Linked DNA regions of Homo sapiens: regions 1, 2 and 4 are each linked to region 3. The links are contacts of gene promoters, found by promoter capture Hi-C in human tissues and cell types (Jung and others, 2019). All regions are on one chromosome and are shown on one strand. The core of a region is centred on a gene start or on the middle of the fragment in contact, and the rest is flanking DNA. Distances in the headings are between cores, read along the strand shown.

Evidence for each region. Contacts are between HindIII fragments. The study calls those that stand out against the background at their distance.
Region 1: a contact is called between a fragment that was not itself captured here and the fragment with the promoter of EXOC3 in region 3, in 1 of the 25 tissues and cell types used here (dorsolateral prefrontal cortex).
Region 2: a fragment that was not itself captured here is called in contact with the fragment with the promoter of EXOC3 in region 3 in 3 of the 25 tissues and cell types used here (dorsolateral prefrontal cortex, pancreas and spleen).
Region 4: a fragment that was not itself captured here is called in contact with the fragment with the promoter of EXOC3 in region 3 in 1 of the 25 tissues and cell types used here (dorsolateral prefrontal cortex).

Annotation. Positions count from the first base shown.
Region 1 is chr5:661,579-668,108 of GRCh38, forward strand. It overlaps TPPP (tubulin polymerization promoting protein), which reads right to left. Exons shown (of 4, transcript NM_007030.3): 3 at 4,392-4,545; 4 at 1-3,718. The coding sequence ends at 3,524. It also overlaps a transcript of CEP72 not described here. Among named protein-coding and RNA genes, the nearest start is that of TPPP, 29 kb to the right of the region's middle. RefSeq lists enhancers at 835-1,004, 2,306-2,475, 3,893-4,062. The HindIII fragment of the contact is 4,891 bases long and covers 31-4,921 here.
Region 2 is chr5:637,701-644,697 of GRCh38, forward strand. It overlaps CEP72 (centrosomal protein 72), which reads left to right. Exons shown (of 12, transcript NM_018140.4): 7 at 1-118; 8 at 1,389-1,524; 9 at 2,708-2,904; 10 at 6,599-6,725. Among named protein-coding and RNA genes, the nearest start is that of CEP72, 29 kb to the left of the region's middle. RefSeq lists enhancers at 5,128-5,297, 5,357-5,857, 5,858-6,358, 5,901-5,960, 5,981-6,030 and 1 more. The HindIII fragment of the contact is 9,549 bases long and covers 1-6,997 here.
Region 3 is chr5:439,172-446,434 of GRCh38, forward strand. It overlaps EXOC3 (exocyst complex component 3), which reads left to right and starts at 4,005. Exons shown (of 13, transcript NM_007277.5): 1 at 4,005-4,119; 2 at 6,979-7,178. The coding sequence starts at 7,035. EXOC3-AS1 (EXOC3 antisense RNA 1) reads right to left here and starts at 3,989. Exons shown (of 1, transcript NR_126522.1): 1 at 2,664-3,989. RefSeq lists enhancers at 1,347-1,496, 3,450-3,499, 3,520-3,629, 4,400-4,529, 4,580-4,669 and 2 more and a silencer at 3,710-4,099. The HindIII fragment of the contact is 5,164 bases long and covers 905-6,068 here.
Region 4 is chr5:224,068-227,867 of GRCh38, forward strand. It overlaps SDHA (succinate dehydrogenase complex flavoprotein subunit A), which reads left to right. Exons shown (of 15, transcript NM_004168.4): 3 at 293-454; 4 at 1,352-1,495; 5 at 1,816-1,980. Among named protein-coding and RNA genes, the nearest start is that of SDHA, 7.6 kb to the left of the region's middle. The HindIII fragment of the contact is 6,814 bases long and covers 1-3,800 here.

The DNA of each region.
Region 1 (6,530 bases), core at 1,226-3,725, 220 kb after region 3:
ATGCAGAAGAGAACACACACCTGCCTGAATTCACAATATTCAGAAACTGACTGAGGAAGATGCACGGGTCTGTTATGTGCAGTGGGGCTGCCGTCCAAACAATGTTCTGTGTTCGGAGGCGGCACACAGATGCAATTACGGATTCCACAGACAAGTTGTAACTGACAGTGGTGACCACTATGTCCTCGTGACTTTATTTTTGCTACCCCTCCTGGCTAGGTGACAGAGATGGGAGCCGAGTGGGTGTTTTCAAAGATTCGCTTTGGAGCTGAGTGGAGAAGGGTGCTCTCCTGGCTCCCGCATGTCTGAGAAAAGCCTGAGGGCCGCTGGGGGAGGGCGTGCCTCTAACTCGTGGGCACCAACCCTGGAAGTGTGGAGGGAGAGTGGGGGCGTGGGGCCTCTCCCTCCAGGATCCCAGGGTGCTCCAGGCCAGGACGGGCAGGGTGCCACAGCAGCCTCGATCTCATTCACGAAACCCACAGGCGTGGCCTAGGGTTTGGGATGCACGCCACGATTTTCTCTCTCAGAGTGAAGGGACCACTTCTGTGAATGAGCTCACCTCCAGGGGCCAAGATGGGAGCCATGAGCCCCGCCGCTCCGGCCACTCCAGCCAGGTCTGGGAAGGGCTGTGGTGAGTCGGTGCTGGCCGTGTGGGCGAGGTGACCCGTCGGTGACAGGGCCTGCTCCCTGCGAGGTCGGGTGGTGCCCGGGCCGGGCGGAGGCTCTTCTCGTGCTCAGGGCCGGTTTCTGGTGTGCTCCCGATGCGCTTGGCTCTTTTCTCGAGGCCGTGCTTGTCTGAGGCCAACCAGGGACCAGGAGGCAGCGTCCTGGTGCCCAGCACCTCTCCTCAGTGTCCCTCGTCCCCACAGACCGGATCAGGGCCTGGCGAGCCTCTGTGCCTGCCGTGCGGTGTGAGGACCCGCGGACCCCAACCCGCCCTTCCCTCCGTCCTGACCCGGCGCCAGGCTCAGCTCCAGGGCGAGGTCCTCTGGAGTCATGTTCGTTCTGCGTGGCTTGGCCGTGACTGTGGGGACTGGGCTGCCCACGGACAGAAAGGAGAAACGCAGCCTGTGACCAGGAGACGCAGCCCAGGGTGGAGCCGCGCTGGGGCCAGGGAGGCCGAGGAGGGCAGGAGTCCGAGGGTGTAAGGGTGCCAGGGCCTTCCGGGTCTCAGGCTTCGGGACCTGGGGAGCCACCCTGTTTGGTGACCACTCGTCCTCGGCCTTTTCAACACAAGGGCTTTGGAGTTGTGATGGGCTGTTATCGGGTGATTCCGGTGGCCACTCGTCTGTGATCGGGTGATTCCGATGACTGCTCGTCTGTGATCGGGCGATTCTGGTGACCGCTCGTCTGTGATCGGGTGAGTCCGATGACTGCTCGTCTGTGATCGGGTGATTCCGATGACTGCTCGTCTGTGATCGGGCGAGTCTGGTGACCGCTCGTCTGTGATCGGGTGAGTCCGATGACTGCTCGTCTGTGATCGGGTGATTCCGATGACTGCTTGTCTGTGATTGGGCGATTCCGGTGGCCGCTCGTCTGTGATCGGGCGATTCCGGTGACCGCTCGTCTGTGATCGGGTGAGTCCGATGACTGCTCGTCTGTGACCGGGCGATTCCGGTGACCGCTCGTCTGTGATCGGGTGATTCCGAACCGCACATTCAGAGTTGTTTTCAAATGTTTCCGCACGTTAGTTCTGCCTTTCACACGCGGTCCAGCCAGGTTCAGCGGGGGCACAGGGCTGGGCTTGGGCACCCCCCGCCTTCCCCAGGCCGGTGAGGTGACATCCTAAAGGAGCCACGAAGCCTGAGGTCCATTTTTCCTTGCTCTTTATTTCCAGGCACTGAACTTCCCAGCCCTGCCGTGGAAGCTGCCTGCCAGGTCCTCCCCATCCTCAGGTGGAGGCTTCTCTGTTGAGGGGCCTCGGAGACCGCCCCCCAGCCCTCAGCGGACCATGCTGGCTGGGAGCTCCGCCCTGGGGCTTCTGCTCTGCTCAGGTAGGGGGAGTCCTTCCACGGAGCTGTGGCCGCAGCAGGTGCACTCTTGGGAGTCGGGGAGGCGGGTGGTGCTCATGCGTGCCAGTGAGGGAGGGGCCTCGCCACCCTCCTGTACTGTGAGCCTGGCCCTGGGCAGCCCTCTGCCCTGGCCAGAGCCTGACCGTAGCCACGGGCTAACAGGCTCTGGAAAAGTTTCCCCAGGACTGCCGCAGGCTCATCCGCAGGTAGACTCCAGAACCACGGCCCAGCAGGTCACACGTGTGGCTGTGGCTGTGTGCGTGCCAAGGGACAGTGGCAGTGTGCCATTGTGACAGCGGGTGGCCACACCCGTCAGCCTCCCCAGGAGGGAGCAGGAGCGCCGGCTTCTCCCCAGGTGCAGACAGGCAAGGGCGGGCCGCCTGGGTGTGTCCTGGCAGTGTGGAGTGTCCTGGATGGGCTCTGCTCAGCCCCCTGCTGGCAGAGAAACCCCCACAGACACTGCAGGACTGGGGGTCCTCCCTAGTGTCCTGCTCTCCGGCGGGGGGGATTGGCCAGGAGAGGTTAGGCTGAGCCATTTTGGGAGAGTTGAAGAAGGTGCTTGGGCTGTGGCAATGGGAGGTCTGCGAGCAAACAGGGTGCAGCTAGTGAGGACGGGCGAACGGGAGGGCCGGGCAGAGGCTCTGTCACGCGGTGAGGCGAGGAGTGTCTCGGCACTTCGTGTCTCTTGCCTGGCAACACCACAGGGACCGGACATTCTGAATCTTCCCAGACCCGCTCTGAGAACATAGGCAGCCACCGCATCTTCTCAGGAAAGCAAAGCGAGCCTACTCTACCCTCACAGTCCAAGCCACTGTGGTCAGCCGGGAAGCCGCCCACTGCCCCTGACGGCTTTCGTTTTACCTAGGTTGCCCTTGGCACAGAGCTGGCCTGTAGGCATGTGTGCACAGGTGTGTCCATGTGACCGGCTTCCCCACACATGTGCCAGGCGCCCAGCACCCCCGCCAGGTGGCCTCACTCTGCCCTCTGCCCAGGAAAGCAGGAAGGCCCCGTGGTGTCCGCTGCACACAGGACAGGCCTCGGGCCCCACAGACACCTCCCACGTCCGGTGTGGGGCCAATTCCGTGTTAGTTGCCTGCTGGTTGGGGTTAGCTCCTGCCACCCTCAGGGCTCCTGGAAGGTGTCTGCCGCTCAGGAGGTCAGCACAGCCTCCTGTTGCCATGACAGCCAGCTGCTTTAAAACGCCCCTTTGACCTGCAAACCACGTGCCCAGTGTGGTGTGATCCGCGAGACACTTTGGAAATGGCTGAGGACGAGGCAGGTGTATTAGGAGGGTCAGCGAACTGGGGCCCAAACCTGGTTTGAGAGGGGAGTGCTGGGGGCATCCGGTAGGAGGAGGGGCAGGAGGGAGGCCTGGGCCTGGCCGCCCCCCAGCCCCCTCTGGGGCACCCGTCTGAGTTCTGCCCCAGTTAGTACAGGAATGTAATGAAGTGCGAGGTGACAGAGTCCCTGCTCTGGGGACACCGGCAGTGCCGCGAGGCATGGAGCGGGGGCTACTTGCCCCCTTGCACCTTCTGGTCGTAGGTGCCTGCGTGCTTGTAGCCGGACACATAGCCTGACTCGTCCACCAGATCCACGCGGCCAGCCTTGCCCTTGCCCTTGCCAGAGGGGTCGAAGCGCTCCTTGTGGGAGCCCGTGAACTTGGTGGTGTCCGTGAGCCTCGACACTGTGGGCGACGAGATGGCTTTCTGCAAGAGGAGCAGGAGGAAGGGGGCAGGTGAGTTGCGAGCCAGGTGAGGCCAGCAAGTGAAATGGCTGTGCCCTGGGCAGGTCTCCCAGCGGTGGGGCACTGGGCAAGGGGCATAAACCCTGGGATTTATGCCCCTTTTAATTCTTATTTTTACCTCTCCTGACCCTGGGGCAGCCTTGGGCCTGCGGGGTGCCACAACCCTAACAATTGCCCAGGTCCACCTGGTGTTTATGTAGTTGGGGACCCCACCACCTGCACCCTCAGAGGGAAGGGGCTGTCAGAACAGCCAGGCCCCACCCTCCAGGCTATGCCCCCCCAATCCATGCCCCTTCAGACCAAGCCTCCCCAGGACCCCCCCAGGCCACGCCGACCTGGCCATGCCTCCCAGGACCCACCCACCCCCTCCCAGGCCAACTCCCAGTCCATGCCCTTCCTGACCACGCCTCCCCAGGCCTCACCCTCCAGGCTATGCCCCATTCATGCCCCTTCTGACCACACCTCCTCAGACCCCACACCAGGCCACGCCCTCCTGACCACGCCTCCCAGGACCCCCCCCAGGTCACGCCCCCAATCCATGTCCCTCCTGACCACCCCTCCCCCAGGCACCACCCACCTTCCAGGCCCCGCCCCCACCCCCTCCAGGCCCCGCCTTCCATCCCCGCCCTGCTCACCGTCACCCCTGAGATGATGGGCGCCTTGCCCTCGATGAGCCTGTGCACCTCGCGAACGGCCTCCTCGCTGCTCTTGTCTTTGAATCGCTTCTTGGCGAGCTCCTCCAGCGCCTCCTGGAACTGCTCAAAGGTGATGGTCCGGCAAGACTTCCCTCTACAGGGGCACAGGCGACTTAGGGCTGGGCGCGGGCCGGCCCAGGGCTGCCCTCCCCACGCGTGGGTCTGAGCAGAGCTGGACAGCCATGGCCCAGCAGCCCACAGGCTTCACCCACAGGCGGCCGCCCTGGTAGCACTGCAAATCCAAACTGTCTTGGAAGAAAGCTTGGCGGAAGCAGGTCCTCTATAAAGCTGGATGCTCACACGGCCCTGCAGGCCGCTCTGACACAGGGTGTGTGCGGGTCTGCACTCTGCTGGGGCAGTGCCGGAGGCCATTAGGCAGCGGAGCCCACCTCCTCCTCCCGGGGCCACCACAGCCCCGCCCAGCTGCGCCGGGAGCTGGGGGTCCTAGGACCTGCTGGGGCCCCGGCTCTGCCTGTGTGTGTTGGGGTCCTAGGTGGAGGTGTCCCCCACACAGGAACATGGTTAGGAGGGGCTGCCGCCCCCGGACACTTGGCAGCATGGGCGCAGGCCCACGCCTCAGATGCCCTGGCTCCAAAACCCGCCAGGCGGCCCCGCTGTGCCCTTGCACTGCTCTGGCCTCAGAGGTGCAGAGCCCGGTGGGCCGGAGGTGCCATGAGAAGCTTCTGGTCACACAACACGCCACATCTAAACACAGTCCACGCCTTACAACATCCTCCCACCACAGGCCATTCAGGCAATTTTAGAGGGTTCTAAACTGACTCTTGGTTTTTATATAATAATTCTAATTAGAAAACATTTTTCTCCTCTGACCAGATCTACCACAACTAACCCAAAGTGGGGTTTTTCAGTGTTTAAAACAAGAGATCCTGTGGATGAGGCTCAGCTCTGCAAAAGGCACCTGCATTTCACCAGGGAAGCCTCTGGACAGCGCGAGAAAGGCTGCACCCAGCAGGCCAAGCATTCCGAGGGCACTCCCAGCTGCAGAATCCACAGTGACCAAGAGTCAGGGGACAAATGACCCATAAAACCCCAGCAAGCCTTTCCAGAAGTCAGTGAGCAGAGGGCCTAGAATAGCCAAAACGATTTCAAGAAATGAGAACAGAGTCAGAAGACTGACTACCCAACTCCAAAGCTCATCGAGGCTTGACTGCAAAGTGGCAGCGACGTGGGCACGGGCACGCGGCCAGCCCCGCAGCCCAGGGGGAGTCTGGCTCAGCCACATGCATGCTGCCCCCCCGATGTCTACAGGTGCAGAGGCAAGCCAGAGAGAAAGGACTGTTTCTTCCACAAGTGGAGCTGGAGCAACTGGTGATCCCTGTGCAAATTAAAATGCACTTTGGTCTATACTGCACACTATATACAAAACTAACTCAAAATAGATGACGGTCCTAATTATGAAACTAAAACTTCTAGAAGAACACCAAAGAGAAGATCTCTGTGACCTGGGGTTAGGCGAAGATTTCTTAGAAATGGCAACAAAACATGGCCTATAGTGGAAAAAATGGATGAACTAGACTTCATCAAAACGTTCGAAACTCTGCTCTCAGAAGACACCGTTAAGGGAATGAGAAGACAAGCCACAGACTAGGAGACATGCCTGAGAAAGGACTTGTCTCTGAGATACACAAAGGAACCTTAAAACTCAGCAGTAAGAAAAAAAATCCATGTGAAAAGACGGGCAGAATATTTGAAGCAGACACCACCAGAGAAGACACGTGCATGCAGACAAGCACACGGAGAGGGGTCCGCGTGGGCCCCATCAGGGAAGTACAGACAAGCACACGGAGAGGGGTCCGCGTGGGCGCCGTCAGGGAAGTACCGACAAGCACACAGAGAGGGGGCCGTGTGGGCGCCGTCAGGGAAGTACCGACAAGCACACAGAGAGGGGGCCGTGTGGGCGCCGTCAGGGAAGTGCGGACAAGCACACAGAGAGGGGGCCGTGTGGGCGCCGTCAGGGAAGTACCGACAAGCACACAGAGAGGGGGCCGTGTGGGCGCCGTCAGGGAAGTACCGACAAGCACACTGGAGAGGGGTCCGCGTGGGCCCCATCAGGGAAGT
Region 2 (6,997 bases), core at 1,304-3,803, 200 kb after region 3:
CAAGGAGAGCCTGAGCAGACAGGACAGCTCAGAAAGCAGGAACGGGAGGACCTTGTCTCAGCCTGAGGCCTCGGAGACTGAGGAGCAGAGGTCTCGGGGTGTGACCGACACCAGAGAGGTGAGAGAAGGGCTGGGGAGCAGCAGGCCCACGGCACTGCCTCCCTAATGTGGGGCTGTTACGGCTTTGGCGGGGCCGTGATTACGCCTGCGGCACTGACTGTGTCCCTCCCTGATGCAGGGCTGTTACGGCGGTGCCGTGATTACGCCTACGGCACTGACCGTGTCCCTCCCTGATGCGGGGCTGTTACGGCTTTGGCGGTGCCGTGATTACGCCTACGGCACTGACCGTGTCCCAGGATAAAGGGAATCATCACACTTAGGGTTCCAGGGTGCTTGCTGCTGCGTTTTGTTGGACGTGTGCCTCTGTGCCACACGCTGTCCTGCGCTGCTGTTCTGAGTGGAAGCCCCGTGGTGGAGAGAGGGGACTCTGCCTTACGGTGCACAGGGCATTTGTCTCCAAAGCTGGAATCGGGCATCTTGGCCGGCTGAGCCATTGATGACCCTTTCGTGAGGGGAGGATCCTGGAGGTCGCTGTGATGAGAGACCGAGTCACTCCACCCTCAGGGTGACCTAGAGGTCAGGGGGACAACTGGCGCAGGCCCAGTCAGAGGCGTTGAGACACACCTGCTGTAGACATGAGTGCAGACCACCCAGAAGGGAACAGGCAGGGGCTGTTCACTTGGTACTTGCCACAACGAGGGCTTCAGACTCCCATGCAGGCAGAGGAGCTTGAAGGTGCGGAACTGTGGGACAGGAAGGGAGGCATGGCCGGAGCTAGAGGCAGCTCCGTAGCAGCATGGGGTGGGGGGGGGTCCCAGAGCTGGGTGGGGCGTGTTTGACGTCCCCGGCAGGTCCTGAGCTGGAAGGAGGCAGAGATGGGGGAGGTGGGCGGTCTGTTTCAGGGTTATTGTTTGACTCCGGGCCATTGCTGGGGACAGCGCCTGGCACCCTCTACCAGCCTGACTGTGGGTGCAGGCTGCTTCCTGGGCAGCTCCTTTTGAACACAGGCTCTGACTGCGGCCTGGATGTGTCTTCCGCTTCCCTGTCTGGGTTGAGGGGAGGAGTCTGGGGCCTGCTTGAGTTGGGAATGTGTGGGCCCCGTCCTGTCCTGTCATCGAGACCTCACTCATCCAGGACCGGTGCACCTGGCTAAGCCTCACTGGGCAGGCACTGCTGAGCCGCCCTCCACCTGGCTCAGGGCTGGGGCCTCAGGGCACCTGTCCTCCCCTTCGTGGTGCGAGGGCATCCCAGGGTGCGCTTGGGCACCTGCTGGCATTCAGGACCTCAGTTACTGACTCGCTGGCCTCATGCTGTTGTTTCCATCACAGCCGTCTCCCGGGTCACACTCGGCTCTACCCGGGAAGAAGACGGCCCTGCAGGCGGCGCTCCTGGAGACGCTCTTGGACCTGGTGGACAGGAGCTGGGGCGGCTGCAGGTCCCTGCACAGCAACGAGGCATTCCTTGGTGAGTCAGGGCGGCCACTGCTCTTGCCCTGTAGGCAGCGTCTGTGTGGGTTCCGGGGTCCTCTGCGTGTGGTGACCTAGGAGTCATCTCAGCCCCAGGTCTCCTATGTCCCCTCCCACGAGCGTGTGGTGGTCCCGCGCCTGGGCCCTCCCTGGCAGTCTTTGCATCTCACAGTGTCCAGGGCTCTCGGGAGACACCACATGGGCCTGGGCCTGTGGGTCCCCCGCTGTGCTCTGGGGTGTTGGGGGGCCTGTCACCTCATTTTGCTCAAAATGCTGTCCAAAGGGGCTTGGTTCTGATGGCTGTGATCACATGGGGATTTGGAGTTTGGAAGCTGCTCAGCATCTTCTCCCCCGACCCAGACGTGTAGCCTGTGCTGGGCCTGGATTGCAGAGCTTTTGGTTGGTGTGGGACCCAGGAGGGTGGTCCCTCCCCAGAGAGGACTTGGGTCTGTTGGATTCTACCAGGCAACCCGTACATGAGCACACTGGGGCCTCCCTCATCCAGGATCACACTGGGAGACCAGGAGATGCCGCGTCCCCAGGGGCACCTTCTCTTTGTCCTGCATCCTGGGGTGTGGCTGTGTGTGTCCCTCAGGAGCCTAGCCAGTGTGCTTCTCCCCGCAGACCCTGGGCACGGCTCTGAGCTGTCTGACTGCGCCTTGCAGTGTTATAGCCCCTCAGCTCCTAGAATGAGGACGCCCTGCAGTCGCAGCCCACCTGGACCCCAGCCCCATAAACCTCCCCTCTCCCTAGGCTGGTGTCCTGTGGGAGCCTCCTGAGCTTGCCATCGTCGGTGGCGGGGGGACTGTCCCAGGCCCAGGCCACTGTCCCAGTGTGGAGTTGCCAGCTGTCGTCTGCATGGTGGTTTCCACACAGGGCAGTCGGTGCTTGTGGAAGGCGCAGCGAGTTGTGGCGGCGCCACTGAAACCTTGAGACGTGGCGGCCCCTGGTTGCCCCTTTTCTTGGAGGTCACCTCTTCTCTTTCTTCAGTTCCCACCCTGCCCGTGTGTGGACGCACAGAGCCTGAGGTGGTTTTGTGGCGCCAACACCCCTTTCCCCTCTCCCTACCTGTCGTCTTTTTGAGGCATCGTCTGTGTGATTCAAAACATACTGAGCCGATTTTGTTTACATTTCATCCTTTAAGCCTAAGTGCTAATGTAATATTTGGTTTTCACTCCTAGCTCAGGCAAGACACATCTTGTCATCTGTTGAAGAATTCACAGCAGCTCAGGACAGCTCTGCGATGGTGGGTGAAGATGTCGGCTCCCTGGCTCTGGAGAGTAAGTCCCTGCAAAGCCGCCTTGCTGAGCAGCAGCAGCAGCACGCCCGGGAGATGAGCGAGGTGACGGCGGAGCTGCACCACACACACAAGGAGCTGGTGAGCCCGCCCTGGCGCTGTGTCTGTGTCCATGTGACTGGGGGAAACATGGCTCTGACTTCCAGGAACGAGGGCAGCTCCTTGATGCCACACTGTCCCAACTGCCATCTCTGCAGCCCCATGTCTCCACTCCCTGCCCGGGACCCGGCCACCCCCGGAACGCGGCCTGCCCTGTCTCACAACAGGCCTGGAGCACTTTGGAGACAGCAGTGGCGCTGGCCACCTTCTCTCCCCGGGCCCAAGGGACCCTCCACCACTGGGCAGTGCCGGGTGCTGCAGGAGCCAGGCCTGGACGTGACTTTGTCTTGCTGACCCATCTCTCAGGGCCTCGAACTGGGGAAAACCGAGGCCACTCTCCTTTTATGAAGGAGATGACGGCCAGTGTCCCATGGTGAGCTGGGGCTACAGGGCAAGTTACCCCAAAACCAGCAGCTGAAAACCTGCATTTATCACCTTGGATTTCTGTGTATTGGGCCTCAGGCTCAGCTCAGCCAGGCTCCCTCCTTCCGTCTCAGCCGTGGGCCGGGGCCGCCGTCTCATCTGAGGCCTCATGGGGGCTCTGTCTCAGCCGTGGGCTGGGGCCACCGTCTCATCTGAGGCCTCACGGGACAGGATCCTCCCAGGCTCCCTCCACGCTGCAAGGGCCTCCCCACGGGCTGCTGGCATCCTTAGCACAGGGAGCTGGTGGTCAGAGAGCCACACCCAGGCAGAAGCCGCCCTCCGGGAGTCCTGGTGTGAGGGCAGAGCCACGTGAGGATGTGCACATCCAGAGGGGCCTTGTCAGCATCTTTAAATTGCGAGTGAAGTCGGCCCGGGACGGCTTCGAAAACTGCCTCTGAACTTGTCTGACAAGTACATACTGTCCGTTTCATGGGAACCAACATCTCAGAGATCCCACACAACGCTTCCTCTTTAGAGAAGAAAAACACAGCAAAACAACACAGGCAGCCTCTGTTTAAACGCACGTGGCCCCCCCACCCCGCCTGGAAGCCTCTGCACGTGGCCTTCATCTGGAAGCCTCTGTATTTAAACACATGTGGGCCTCCTCCATCTGGAAGCCTCTGTATTTAAACACACGTGGGTCCCCATCCCCCGTCCAGAAGTCTCTGCATTTAAACACACATGGCCCCCCATCCCCCATCCAGAAGCCTGTGCATTTAAGCACACGTGGTCCCCCGTCTAGAAGCCTGTGCATTTAAGCACACGTGGTCCCCGGTCCAGAAGCCTCTGCATTTAAGCACACGTGGTCCCCCGTCCAGAAGCCTGTGCATTTAAACACACGTGGTCCCCCGTCCAGAAGCCTGTGCATTTAAACACACGTGGTCCCCCGTCCAGAAGCCTCTGCATTTGAACACACGTGGTCCCCCGTCTAGAAGCCTGTGCATTTAAGCACACGTGGTCCCCCGTCTAGAAGCCTGTGCATTTAAACACACGTGGTCCCCCGTCTAGAAGCCTCTGCATTTAAGCACACGTGGTCCCCCGTCCAGAAGCCTGTGCATTTAAACACACGTGGTCCCCCGTCCAGAAGCCTCTGCATTTGAACACACGTGGTCCCCCGTCTAGAAGCCTCTGCATTTAAACACACGTGGTCCCCCATCTAGAAGCCTCTGCATTTAAGCACACGTGGTCCCCCGTCCAGAAGCCTCTGCTTTTAAACCAACGTGGCCCCTCCTCTGGAAGCCTCTGTATTTAAACACACATGGCCCCTCATCTGGTGGAAGCCTCTGGATTTAAGCACACATGGCCCCTTCTCTGGAAGCCTCTATATTTAAACACGTGTGGCCCCCCGTCTGGAAGCCTTTATACTGAAACACACGTGACCGGCTGTCTGGAAAGTGAGCTGGGCGCCGTCACTGATGATGTCTTTTCTGTGGGACACAGTCAGGCACACCCCTTGCCCTTCTGAGCCTGGGACGAGACAGAGCTGACAGGCGGAGCCCAAAGGTGTGCCGAGCACCAGTGCTGCCAGGGGTGAGAGTCACATGCAGCTGTGGCTGCCGTGGACGCCTGCTTTTTTGCCCTCTGCAGTTTGCCTAACCCCTGCAGTTTGCAGGCAGCCCTGGGCCTCTGGACAGAGCAGCCCTGGTTCCCTGTCAGGGTGAGTGATCCAGAAGAATCTGGCAGCCCGAGCCCCGCGGGTAAGGAGCAGTCAGCACCGTCAGGAACCCCGCGGAGGGAGCAGCCGTGCAGGCTGGTGGGCACTGCTTTCCAGGGAGGCCCACATCTGTCACTCCAGAAGCACCCAAGTTTACTCTGCCACGTGAGGACGCTCATCCCTCGGTCACATGAACCTAGACCTTGCTTCCTTTGGAAGCTGCAGTCGGGTGTCCTGAGGCAAGGTGGCCCCACTTCCAGCTGCTGTGCCTGGCACGGCCTCTGAGGCAGATGGGCTGCGCCCAGCTTGGGTGCAGTCGGTCCTCTGTTCCCTGCACCTGTCGTGGCCTAGACTCCAAAAAATAAAAAATTAGGTGTGGTGGCACACTCCTGTCATCCCAGCTATTTTGGGAGGTAGAGGCAGGAGGCTCAGGAGTTGGGGGCTGCAGTGAGCTGTGATTGCTCCACTGCCCTCTAGTTTGTGCGACAGAGGGAGACTTTGCCTCAAAGAAACAAATGAAAAAGAGCTGGGAGCTCACAGCCCTGCCTTAAGAGCTCACCGCATCCTTGGGAGGCAAAACCATGAGACGTGGCACTGCCAGGAGCTTTCTGGACGACCCAAAGCCCCGCGCGGAGGGCAGGTCATGCTGGTTGGCGCCACTGCAGCAGACACCTTGGGGAGAAGTCCGCGAAATGAAGAACGGGCCAAGATAAGCCTGAGGGGAATGGTCTCAGACCCAGCGATCAGCTTTCACCATGGGCGTCGGGGGCCTGGCGGGTGCATGCATGCTGAGGGGGCTGTCGGCGGGTGGGCTCACTGAGCGGAGAAGGATGAAGCGGCGATACCCCCAGCACGAGGCTTCTGCTGCACAGACTCAGGCGCTCCCTCCCCTGGTGGCAGTGAGCTGGGGCCTGCTCAGCACCCCCGGCCCCAGGATGTGCCTGCTGGTGCCTGAGAGAGCAGCAGCCAGGTGAGACGGGATCCCTGGGGACCCTGGCCGCAGGTGCTGGCGGCTTGGATGGCTCACACCTCACCAGACACCCTGGGGCCAGGGAGGGGCAGAGGCTGCCGTGTAGCTGCAGGCGTGGCCCTTTCCCCTCCTCGATGACAGCTCGTCCTGTGCTCCAGGTCTTCTCCATACTTTGAGGATATGAAAGGAGCCAGAACAGAAGGGGGTTCCTGCAGGGCCACCGGTGCCTCACACTGGCACCAAGGCCTGGGGCTCGCAGTGTCCGTGAGGGCGTCCTGGAAGAGACAGGGTTCCCCCAACCGCCACCAGCTGCCCTGCCCAGCATCAGGCCTGCAGGTCCTGCTGGAGCACATGCCTCAGGGAGACTCAGGAGTGGGGCTCTCACAGGACTGGGGCGCTCCTTTCCATCCCTCTCCTCACTTCCCCCCTCCCCTGAGGGTGCTGCAGGGCTGGGCAGGGCGGGCTGGGAGCAGGGAGATGTACCGTGAAACTGAATTACTGCCTTTCACATCGTGACTCCCAAGTATGCAGAAGGAACCCTCTGGGGATTCTCAGGTTTCAGTTTTACTTTCTATACGCATTTTACTGAATTTGACTTGTGCACTTAAGTGTATTTTCTGTGTCCGCAGGATGATTTGAGACAACATTTAGATAAATCTTTGGAAGAGAACAGTAGGTTAAAATCGCTTTTGTTGAGTATGAAAAAGGAAGTGAAGAGTGCAGACACTGCAGCCACGTTAAATTTGCAGATCGCTGGTAAGTTGATCGTGTATTTGGTCACTTTGTAAACTTTAGGTGTTCAAATGTGCCTAGGTAGACTTTGTTTTAAATTCTTCACTGAGGGAAGTGAGCAGCAGCAGACGCAGTTGGTAAGTGGGGAGCCGAGCCCCTGCCTCACTGGCTGGGGTGGAGGCTGCCTCGGCCGGAGTTTATGGCACACACGTGTGTCTGGGGCAGTCCTGGCATGGATGTAGGAGGCAAGGCCACCCCTGTCCTCACCCTGCCCGACCGTCCTCCCCTCAGCACAG
Region 3 (7,263 bases), core at 2,755-5,254:
TTAAGTGATTCTCCCACCTCAGCCTCCAGAGTAGCTGGGACTACAGGCATCCACCACCACGCCCAGCTAATTTTTGTATTTTTAGTAGAGACTGGGTTTCACCTTGTTGGCCTGGCTGGTCTAAAACTCCTGGCCTCACATGATCAGCCTACCTCGGCCTCCCAAAATGCTGGAATTACAGATGTGAGCCACCACGCCCAGCTGGACGCACACAATTTCATCTCACCAGGCGCTGCCCAGCGTCCTCCAGAGGGGCTGCACCCACTTGGCCTCCCTTCTACCAGCCACACCTCCTGGGCTCCCATCCTCACCCCACACTGGCACCTGTGTGGACAGACTTTTTCAGTCTTGGGCTTCTGAAGGGATGAAACGGCAGCTGTTTTATGTGCATTTTGTTTATTCATTCGGCATATTTTTAGTCCTTGTTGAGTATCAGGCCCTGCACCAGTGCTGGGGACGCATTCAGGAGAAAACGATGCAGACATCAGTGCTGTCCCAGAGCTGGCGTCTGAACATGTGTGATGTGCGGTGTGTGCGTGTGCAGGGGGAAGGGGTGCAGGCAGCTGAACGTGACCATGAGAACCCCGTAAACTCTGCGGGGCATGGAGGGGACCGGTGCTTTGCAGGTGCACAGAGCTGGGGCTGGGGGTGGCCCAGGTCTTTGGGGGCAGTTTTATGCAGGACGTATGGACGGCTGGAGCTGAATAGCGAGTGGGGGAGGCTGCATGGCCGCAGTGAGGTCTGGCTGACAATAGAGCAGGGCCTGGGTCATGGCTCATGGTCTGGTCAGGTCAACGGACACCCTAGTCATGGCTCAGAGGCTTCAGCAGGGCCCCGTGGGGAGGGTGTGGGGACAAGGTCTCCCTGAAGGCCGAGGGAAGCAGCTTATTCCCCGGAGCCAGTGGCTCTTGTCCTTTACCCGTTTCTTGCTGCACTTGTTTGCCCTTTTAGATCAATTTGCAGGAGTTCTGTTTTTATTCTGGATAGCAATTTTCTTGTCAGTTACAGATGCTGACAATGTTTTCCCTCAGTCTGTGGCTTGGCTTTTCACTTAAGGATTTAAAAATTATATCCCACAAGAGTTTAAGATTTTAATATAGCAACTTTTCTATTTTATTCTTTATGGCTTATGCATTTTGCATCTTAGGAAAATAACTATCTTTGACAGTGGCTTTTGACCAAAAACCCATGTTGTTTGATATTCATATCCCCACACCAGCTTCTCGGGCCTGGCTGACCCACGTGTGAAAAGCCTCCAGTTCTAATCGTTGTTTCTTGATGCTTTAGATGTTCGCCTATGAATGTTTCACTGTTTCTAATCCACTTACTTGTGTTCTCATTACTGATACATTTCAACACAGGGTCCTCATCTTCTCCTTGCCTGCAGTCTCTGTGCTGTTGCCTGCATTTTCTCTCTTCCTGTTTCTATTTCTGTAGTGGCTAACCTTAATGTGGGCATTTAACAAGGTCTAAGCAGGAGCTAAGCACGGTCTCTATTCTCCCAGAGCAGGGTCAGGACTGTGGGTGCTTCAGTGCCCTCCCCTCCCTCCCCCTCGAGTTTGCTCCTGTCAAGGTGGAGGAGGATCCCTCTAGCAATGACCCTGGGTTGGCTTCCGCCGAGGGCTGAGTTTAGGAACAGTCTCCAGGCTGTTGCTGTTTTCCTAGTCCACGCTTTCACTGAGGATGCATCCCTTGCACATCTGTGCTTCACATGGGAGTCGCCGTCCACCTCCCACCTGCTGGGAGCCTTAGCTTCATCATCTGTCCTGCTTCAGTGTAAAACCCAACCCCTGGGCCGCAGAACTCGCACCCTACCCACCCACCTGCCTGCTGTAGGACGGCAAGCATCTCTGCTTCTGATTCACGTCCTCTCCCCTTCCCACATTTGTCCCTGGTCACGTCCTTGCCTGTTCGTGAATCCACTTGTGCAATCGACATGATGCTTGCACTCAGCAGTGCTCCTGGGTGTTCGCAGAACATGGTCTGCCAAAAACAGAAGTCAAGAAACTTTTTTTTTTGAGACAGATTCTCCCTCTGTCACCCAGGCTGGAGTGTAGTGGTGCCATCTCAGTTCACTGCAACCTCCTCCTCCCGGGTTGAAGCCATTCTCCTGCCTCAGCCTCCCAGGGAGCTGAGATTACAGGCATGCACCACCATGCCTGGCTAATTTTTGTGGGGTTTTTTTTGGTAGAGATGGGGTTCCTACCAAAAAGACCATGTTGCCCAGGCTGGTCTCAAACTCCTGGGCTCAAGGGGTCTGCCCATCTCAGCCTCCCAAAGTGCTGGGATTACAGTTAGGAGCCACTGCGCCCAGCCAATAAATACCTTTTTTTTTTTTTTTTTTTTTTTTTTTTTTTTGAGACGGAGCCTCGCTCTGTTGCCCAGGCTGGAGTACAGTGGCGCGATCTTGGCTCACTGCAAGCTCCGCCTCCCGGGTTCACGCCATTCTCCTGCCTCAGCCTCCCGAGTAGCTGGGACTCCAGGGGCCCACCACCACACCTGCCTAGTTTTTTTGTATTTTTTTTAGTAGAGACGGGGTTTCACCATGTTAGCCAGGATGGTCTCGATCTCCTGACCTCATGATCTACCTGCCTCGCCTCCCAAAGTGCTGGGATTACAGGCGTGAGCCACGGCGCCCCGCCAAGAAAGACTTCTAATCAATGTTTTGTTAAGAAGTTACTAGACAGTCCTCCATCCAAATTCACTACCAGACACTGATATAATAGTATGAGTCTTTAGTTCATAATACTCAATGTTACTATATTTTTAAGAGTCCTAAAAGCTTTGGCAATTTTGGCAATTTTTTCTTCATTAGTTTCAAAATTTCTTTACAGTCATAATTTCTAACACAATTTTAACTTTTTTACTTTTTTTCATTGCTCAACTTGTTGCTAGATTTTCAGAAATTACAAGGAAAAACTGAAATAATAGAGCCGGGGTCAGTGTCAACATCAGCAGGGCACGGGGCAGGGCTCCCTGTCGGAGTGGCAGTGGGGGCTCCCGCAAGCTCCATCTCCTTCCTGTGTGCCCCTGCCCCATGCTGCTGCCACTTCCCTGGTCTCTGCTGGCTTCCCTGCCACCTTCCAGACCCTTCCTTTCGTGTGGCTAATTTTCAGGAGGGGCAGGGGCACAACCTAGCAGCTCCAACCTATGAAAGACTTTGTCAGTTGGTGTGTCAAAGCCAGCATCTTTTATCAAACAGACAAACCCTGAACGCTCGTGGTTTAGCACGTGCTTCTTCCTCCAGGCGAAGCCAAGTGCTGGCCATGGGCCTCTCCTCCAGGAAGCGACTCAGGACCGGCCCTCTGCAGCGCGGCCCAGTGACCCACATTCATTCTCCAAGACCTGCGCTGCTGGGCCTCTGAGGGGCCCCGGAAACATCCGGTGGCCACCCATCCCACTGGCATTGTTCCCACGAGGGTGCCAATGACTGCGCTCCTGGAGGGGCTGAGTTCGTCTTTGGGTCCAGGAGGTACCCAAAGCCGCTTGTCTGCTGGTGGCAGGTATGACAGACGTTTGATTCCCAACCTTCTCCGCTTTGGTTTCTTCGTTTACTGAATGCCCGGCGCCCACCTCAGTCCGCGGGAAACGAGGGACGCCCCTGCCACACTGCAGTGCGGACGACGAGGCCAACATAAAGACAGCAGGCATCAGCAGAGGATGGAGACAGCGGCTCTGGGGCTGTCTTCTCTCCGCAGGTTGGGAAGGGAAAGGAGAGAAAATGCACGCAGTCACGCTCGGCGGAGGCGTCCAGGACTGCGCCCGCCCTGGGGAAGGGCGCACGCGGTGGTCGCCAGGGGCAGCGAGAGGGCCTGAGTTGGGGGGGCTGGGACGGACAAGAAGCCCCCCACCTCGGCGGTTTCCCTGTCCTGCTGGGGAGCGGCCATGGGGCAGGTCCCCGAGCTGAAGTCGCTCGGCCGGGAGACGAGTACCCGCCCCGCGGGAGGGCCCGGACCCGTGCTTCCGGCGCCGTTGCCGGAAGCGGAAGTGCCCGCGCGCTGTCCACTTCCGGCCGGGACCCCGGAGGCGGAGGCAGCGAAGGCGGAGGGGGCGGCGGGGGCGGCGGCGGCGGCGGCGGCGGCGGCGGCGGCGGCGGCGGCGGCGGCGTAGCCGTAGAGGGTGAGTCGGTGGCAGGTCCTGACGGCCGGCGGGTCCTTGGGAGGTGGTCGCCGTCTTTCATCCTTGCTCTCCCTGTCTCTGGCTTCCGCGGGGGCGCGTAGGGGGAGGCCGGACCGGGACCTGGAGGGCGGGGAGGCCGTTCCGGACCCCGTGGAGTATCCCGCTCGTGCGAGTGTCCTCGGCGCAGGTGTCCTCCCCGGCACATGTGTCCCCCCCAGGCGTAGGTGTCCCCTTGGCACATGTGTCCCCACAGGCACAAGGTCCTTCCTGGTGCAGGTGTCCCCTTAACAGTGTCTTCCCCCACGCCCCAGGCGCTGGTGTCCTTCCTGGCACAGGTGTCCCCCCTCGGAGCAGGTGTCCCTCCTTGGGGCAGATGTCCCTCCAGGCACAAGTGTCCTTCCTGGCGCAGGTGTCCCCTCGGCGCAGGAGTTCTCCAAGGTGCAAGTGTCCCCTCAAGCACAGGTGTCCCTCCCAGGCACAAGTGTACTTCCTGGTGCAGGTGTCCTCTTGACGGTGTCCCCCCCCAGGCGCAGTTGTCCTTCCTGGCACAGGTGTCCCCCCTCGGACCAGGTGTCCCTCGTCGGAGCAGGTGTCCTTCTGGGCACAAGCGTCCTTCCTGGCCTTTAGGAAGCTTTCAAGGTGCAGGTGTCCTCCAAGGTGCAGGTGTCCTCCAGCGGAGTGTCCCCTCCGTGAGGTGCCTCCCAGCACAGGTGTTCCCCTCGGCGCAGGCGTCCCCCCGGTAAAGGGTCCCTCCTGGCAGAGGTGTCTGCCCGGCAGAGGTGTCTCCCTGGCGCAGGTGTCTCCGTGGGTGCTGATGTTCCCCGCAGTAGGGTGTCCCCCCGCTCGGCGGAGAGGCTCACAGCGGAGCCAGCGCCAGGGGAAGGCAGTCAGAAAGGCCCTGGTAGGGGCTGGACCTGGGTCTCTGTTTATGGTCTCTGAGTTCCTCTTTGGCTTCTGTGACCCAAAATCTTTAGTCTTCAGGCTGGGATGGAAGCCTCTGCGGTGCGTTTTTTAACTCCAGATTTTCCCCTTTTCCACATGAGTAGCTTTATTCTGACTCCAAGGCGAGCCCTGCTTCACAGCTCTCCACTCACATTGCCTTGGCTTCCACCCACAGCGTGACAGACTTCACTCCAGCCTTAAGATGGGCGCAGCCACCTCACCGCGTGCCCCAGCAGAGCGGCTGGGGGTCCACTTCTTGGGTTATTATCCAGCCCTATAATCAAAATCATACAGGCTTTAATGTCAATGGAAATGCTGATGATAATGTCCAAACAAAATAAGAAAACAAAAGTGTGCACCTACAAAGTCATATAAGCAGTGGAATCTTAGCTTTAAAAGAAACTCAAAGGGAAAAAACTGGAAGGAAACAAGCCCTGTTGGAGGGAGTTGCCCCTGAGTGTCGGGATTTAAGGGGAGTTGTCCCTGGGTGGCGGGATTTAAGGGGAGTTGCCCCTGAGTGGTGGGATATAGCGGGGGTTACCCCTGAGTGGTGGGATTTACGGGAAGTTGTCCCTGGATTGTGAGATTTAAGGGAAGTTGCCCCTGGGTAGCAAGATTTAAGAGGAGTTGCCCATAGATGATGGGATTTAAGGGGAGTTGCCTCTGGCATCTTTGTATTTTTGTCCTGTCCAGATTTTCTACGTTGGTATGCCAAATTTCATAATCAGAAAATAAAGAGAAAGGAAAGGTTGCAATGTAGGTCCAGATGAAAAAGGAGAAGAGAGGTGTCTGAAAGCATGTGGGCATGGAGAATGAAAAATTCCAGGAGAAGGTGAATCTTTTTAATATTCATGAAGATGAAAATCAGACAGCTGAAGTCAAGGGGAACAGGTGTATCGGATTCCCTCATTGACTGATGCTCACCAAGCAGCTGTGTTAGCTCCCCGAGGAGGACGATGGTGGAGGGAGCATGGAAGGCAGGCTTGCCTGGCATCTGAGCACCTGTGGTCTGCACGGGGCCTGCATAAAGGAGGGAAGCATGATGTTTTCTAGGACAGTTAAAAAAGGGGGAAATGGGGTTTTGGATACCCAAGACAATAATGACTTTTTCTTTTTTTTTCTTTTTTTTTTTTTTGAGACGGAGTCTCGCTCTGTCGCCCAGGCTGGAGTGCAGTGGCGCGATCTCGGCTGACTGCAAGCTCCGCCTCCGGGGTTCACGCCAGTCTCCTGCCTCAGCCTCCCGAGTAGCTGGGACTACAGGCACCCACCAACATGCCCAGCTAATTTTTTTGTGTGTATTTTTAGTAGATACAGGGTTTCACCATGTTAGCCAGGATGGTCTCGATCTCCTGACCTCGTGATCCACCCGCCTCGGCCTGCCAAAGTGCTGGGATTACAGGCGTGAGCCACCGGGCCTGGCTGACTATTGTCACTTTTATAGGGTGGGAATTGTGGGGCTTGTGCTGGGCCTCCAGCTGTGGTACCTGGTCGGGGGAGTTGTCCACGCTGTATTTGTCTTCACTGAGGGTCCTGGTGCAGCTGCCCACAGGCCTGGCCAAGGTGCTGGGGGAAAGCTCCCGAAATGAGAAACCAGCCCTGTCTTGGGGAGAGATGTGCCTTTGAGGCTGACATCTACATGCTGGGTGGTCTGGGACCCACATCTAGAATCTTCGCAATGTCCATGTCTCTCATGCCTGTGAAACGCCCCTGCTCTCCCCTTAAAGGTATAACTTCTGCATGTTTGTGTTACGAAGGTTTGTTTATCTTATCAAGGAGTTCCTCATCCTAGTTCAGCTTTCTTTGAGGTTTCCTGGATTAATGATCTCAGAGGCTCTGCTTGTAGCTCCACTGTGATCACCTGATAGTTTGGGGGAGGTTTTGTACCTAACATTTCTACCGTCCTAACAACTCCTGCAGTGCACAGAGAACACCCCTAGCATGAACAGTGTGAGGATTCCACCAGCTTTTTCACCATGAAGGAGACAGACCGGGAGGCCGTTGCGACAGCAGTGCAAAGGGTTGCTGGGATGCTCCAGCGCCCGGACCAGCTGGACAAGGTGGAGCAGTATCGCAGGAGAGAAGCGCGGAAGAAGGCCTCCGTGGAGGCCAGATTGAAGGTGAGGCCACCTGCCCCACTCCCAGGATCTGTCTTGGGCTTCAGGTTCTTGCTTGACATCACCATGATGATTTTGCTAAACTAGC
Region 4 (3,800 bases), core at 877-3,376, 220 kb before region 3:
CCTTCTCAGGCATAAGCATAGGCACGGCCCTGAAGTAGAGTTGTGGTCCTCAGTCTGACCCCATGGGATAGACCCTCTACCATTCGTAGAATCTGATTGTCAGTCCCTTCTCCAGGTGCGAATGTGCCCACCTCTCCCCGAACTGTTCAGGGCTCAGCCCCAGGACAGGATGGAGGCCCTGTGTGCCCAGCAGTTGCTCCTTTTATCTTTGTCAAGCTCTTTCACTGTCACAAGATTCTTCATGTTTGGCATAGTGGAACATGTGATTGACAGGTGAATTTTTCTTTTCCAGATTTCTGCTCAGTATCCAGTAGTGGATCATGAATTTGATGCAGTGGTGGTAGGCGCTGGAGGGGCAGGCTTGCGAGCTGCATTTGGCCTTTCTGAGGCAGGGTTTAATACAGCATGTGTTACCAAGCTGTTTCCTACCAGGTCACACACTGTTGCAGCACAGGTAAGAGAAAGGTGCCCCACTGTGCTCCCACTCCGTGCAGGTCCCGCGCAGCCTCGCACTTTCTACCTGGGCAGCCCCCTGCCTCCTCCCCCTGCTCCAGCCACATGGCCTCTTGCTGTGCCTTACTCAGCTCACCCTCTCAGGGGTCTCTCCCTGGAGCCTCTTCCCTGGGGACTTTGAAGGGCGGGAGACTTGTTGTCACTCCTAATTCAGACTCCAGTCACACTTGGGTTTTCTCTGACCATCTTGCCTACTACCTTCCCCACCTACCCCCGCCACCCCAACACCTTAAGAAAAGGAGATCACCTAAAGAGGAGGAATCAGAATTTAGGTTGGGGAAGAAAAGGGCAAGGGTTTCATTTGTCCCTGTGCTTCTGTCTTCTGGGACTCTCTGAGGGGTAAGACAGTGGTGGGCACACACAGCCAAAGGAAGCTGGGGTACAGGGGAGTGCGACTCTGAGTGTGGAGTTTATTACTTGGCAGGAAGCACTTCTAGTCTTTAACACATGCCCGTAAATGCCATTGGGAAGATTTGTTAATAAAATTATCTGGAAAGATTTGTTGAGTACCTTTTCTGTGCCAGATAGGTTAGGTTATAAGCATATTACAGGTAGCCTTTCACTCACTGCTCCAGTCAGCCCTTCCTGGAGTTCCCTGTGTCTCCACCACGCAGATGAGGAGACTGAGGCTAAGGATGGAATCACTGGGCGAGTCGGGGAGGGGTTGTGATCTGGAATCTGTCGGGTCTCGCTGCTCCTCTGCTGAGGTCAGCCCTCACTGGGAGTCACTGTGTGAGTAGTTGGCTTTCTCTGAATCCCCCCAGCGGGTGGATTTGGGCCTGGAAGACAAAGTTGGCGCTCCTGTTTGTGGCTTGTAAGGAGTGGTTGGTGTTTCCAGGGAGGAATCAATGCTGCTCTGGGGAACATGGAGGAGGACAACTGGAGGTGGCATTTCTACGACACCGTGAAGGGCTCCGACTGGCTGGGGGACCAGGATGCCATCCACTACATGACGGAGCAGGCCCCCGCCGCCGTGGTCGAGGTGATGGGCGGGAGGCTCTGGGTGTTCTCGTGGTCTGTTTCTAGTACAAAAGAATCCTGGAAAAAAATGTAAGCAATTGAGGCGGATGTGGCAGCCAAAAGAATGGTGATGAGCAAAGTTCACAAGAAGAGTCTTTTTCCGTTATGAACTATGCATTATATGTAACAAGAAAACTTCTCTTTGATGAAGTGTTGACATTTTCATAAAATAGGTTACTTTGGGTTTGCAGATTTGTGTTAAACTTGTTTAGTGTAGATTAGCTGCGAATATCTTGACTCCTTTAAGGTGTTAAGGTTTTTGTTTGTTTTTATCTTTCACAGCTAGAAAATTATGGCATGCCGTTTAGCAGAACTGAAGATGGGAAGATTTATCAGCGTGCATTTGGTGGACAGAGCCTCAAGTTTGGAAAGGGCGGGCAGGCCCATCGGTGCTGCTGTGTGGCTGATCGGACTGGCCACTCGCTATTGCACACCTTATATGGAAGGGTAAGGCCGCCCCCGTCCACCTGAGACAGGACACGTAGTGCTGGGGCTTATGGTGACAGTGGGGAATGGGTTAGCGTGCCCAGTGAGTCAGCCAGAGATTACGTAAAAAGCAACAGAGAACAGCAGCGTGGGGCGCATGCAGCGACTGTGGATGTGACAGGACCAGACGTGTGCCTTGAGGAGCTGTCCCTAAGGCAGTGTGTGACTTCTTGCATCTATGTCAGAAAGTTGAATCGATAATCTTACATACCAGGTTTTAACTTGGGATATGTGACACTCAACATACAAGAGCAGAGCAAGCAGGCCAGGCACAGTGGCTCAGGTCTGTAATCCCAGCACTTTAGGAGGCCAAGGCAGGAGGATCACTTGAGACCAGAAGTTTGAGACCAGCCTGGACAACATAGCAAGACCCTGTCTCTACAAAAAGTTTAAAAATTAGCTGGGCATGGTGGTACATGCTTGTAATCCCAGTTACTCAGGAGGCTGAGGCTCCTGGATCACTTGAGACCAGGAGGTTGAGGCTACAGTGAGCCATGTTCGTACCACTGCACTCCAGCCTGGGCAACAGGAGACCCTGTCTCAAAAAAAGAGAAAGAACAGGCTGGGTGCGGTGGCTCACGCCTGTAATCCCAGCACTTTGTGAGGCCTAGGCGGGCAGATCACAAGGTCAGGAGTTTGAGGCCATCTTGCCTAACACTGTGAAACCCCGTCTCTACTAAAAATACAAAAAAATTAGCCAGGCATGGTGGCAGGCACCTGTAGTCCCAGCTGCTTGGGAGGCTGAGGCAGGAGAATGGCGTGAACCCAGGAGGCGGAACTTGCAGTGAGCCGAGATCGCACCCCTGCACTCCAGCCTGGGCAACAGAATGAGACTCCATCTCAAAAAAAAAAAAAAAAAAAGAACAAGTATTTTAAGTCTCTTTTACCACCTCTGAGTTCCTGAATGGATTGGTTTTGTTTGTTTTGTTTTGTTTTGTTTTTGAGACGGAGTCTCACTCTGTCACCCAGGCTGGAGTGCAGTAGCACAATCTCAGCTCACTGCTACTTCCACCTCCTGGATTCAAGTGATTCTCCTGCCTCAGCCTCCCGAGTAGCTGGGACTACAGGCGCACGCCACCATGCCTGGCTAATTTTTTGTATTTTAGTAGAGACAGGGTTTCCCATGTTGCCCAGGCTGGTCCCGAACTCCTGAGCTCAGGCAGTCCACCTGCCTTGGCCTCCGAAAGTGCTGGGATTGCAGGCGTGAGCCACCGCACCCGGCCATGGATTGTTTTAATATTAACTGTTAACACTGAAGAAAGACTTGAGGTGACAATAGTTACTGGGTAATCAGAGTCAACTTTGGCATGGCCAAATAATATTCTGAACGGTATTGATTCAGAGTAATCAATATTCTGAACTTTGTTGTTTTCTGATGCATGGGGACGGATCGTTAATTTGCAGGTTGTTAGAACACCAGTGACTTCTCTGTGGCTGAGTGCATCGACAAGTGTGTGGTGGGAGGAGACCGCGGCTCCATCTGGAGCAGGAGCTGTCATGTGGGGAGCTGGCCCAGGCTTACAAGAGCGACTTGTGCTGGCTGAGGGAACGGCAGGTCCAGGCGGGCAGCGCTGTCCGGCGCCTACCTTTCTGCGGTGCCGGAATCTGCTCGTCTGCAACCGTCCGCTTTGGTAGCTGCCAGCCACATGGGGCTGTTGCTAATGTGGCAGGTGTAGCTGAAGAGCTGAATGTTTTGACTTATTTTAATTAATTAAGTGGTTATGTGTTGCCAGTAGCTCCCATCTGGGCTGTGACTGCATGGTCTGCGGACCTCACTCTGG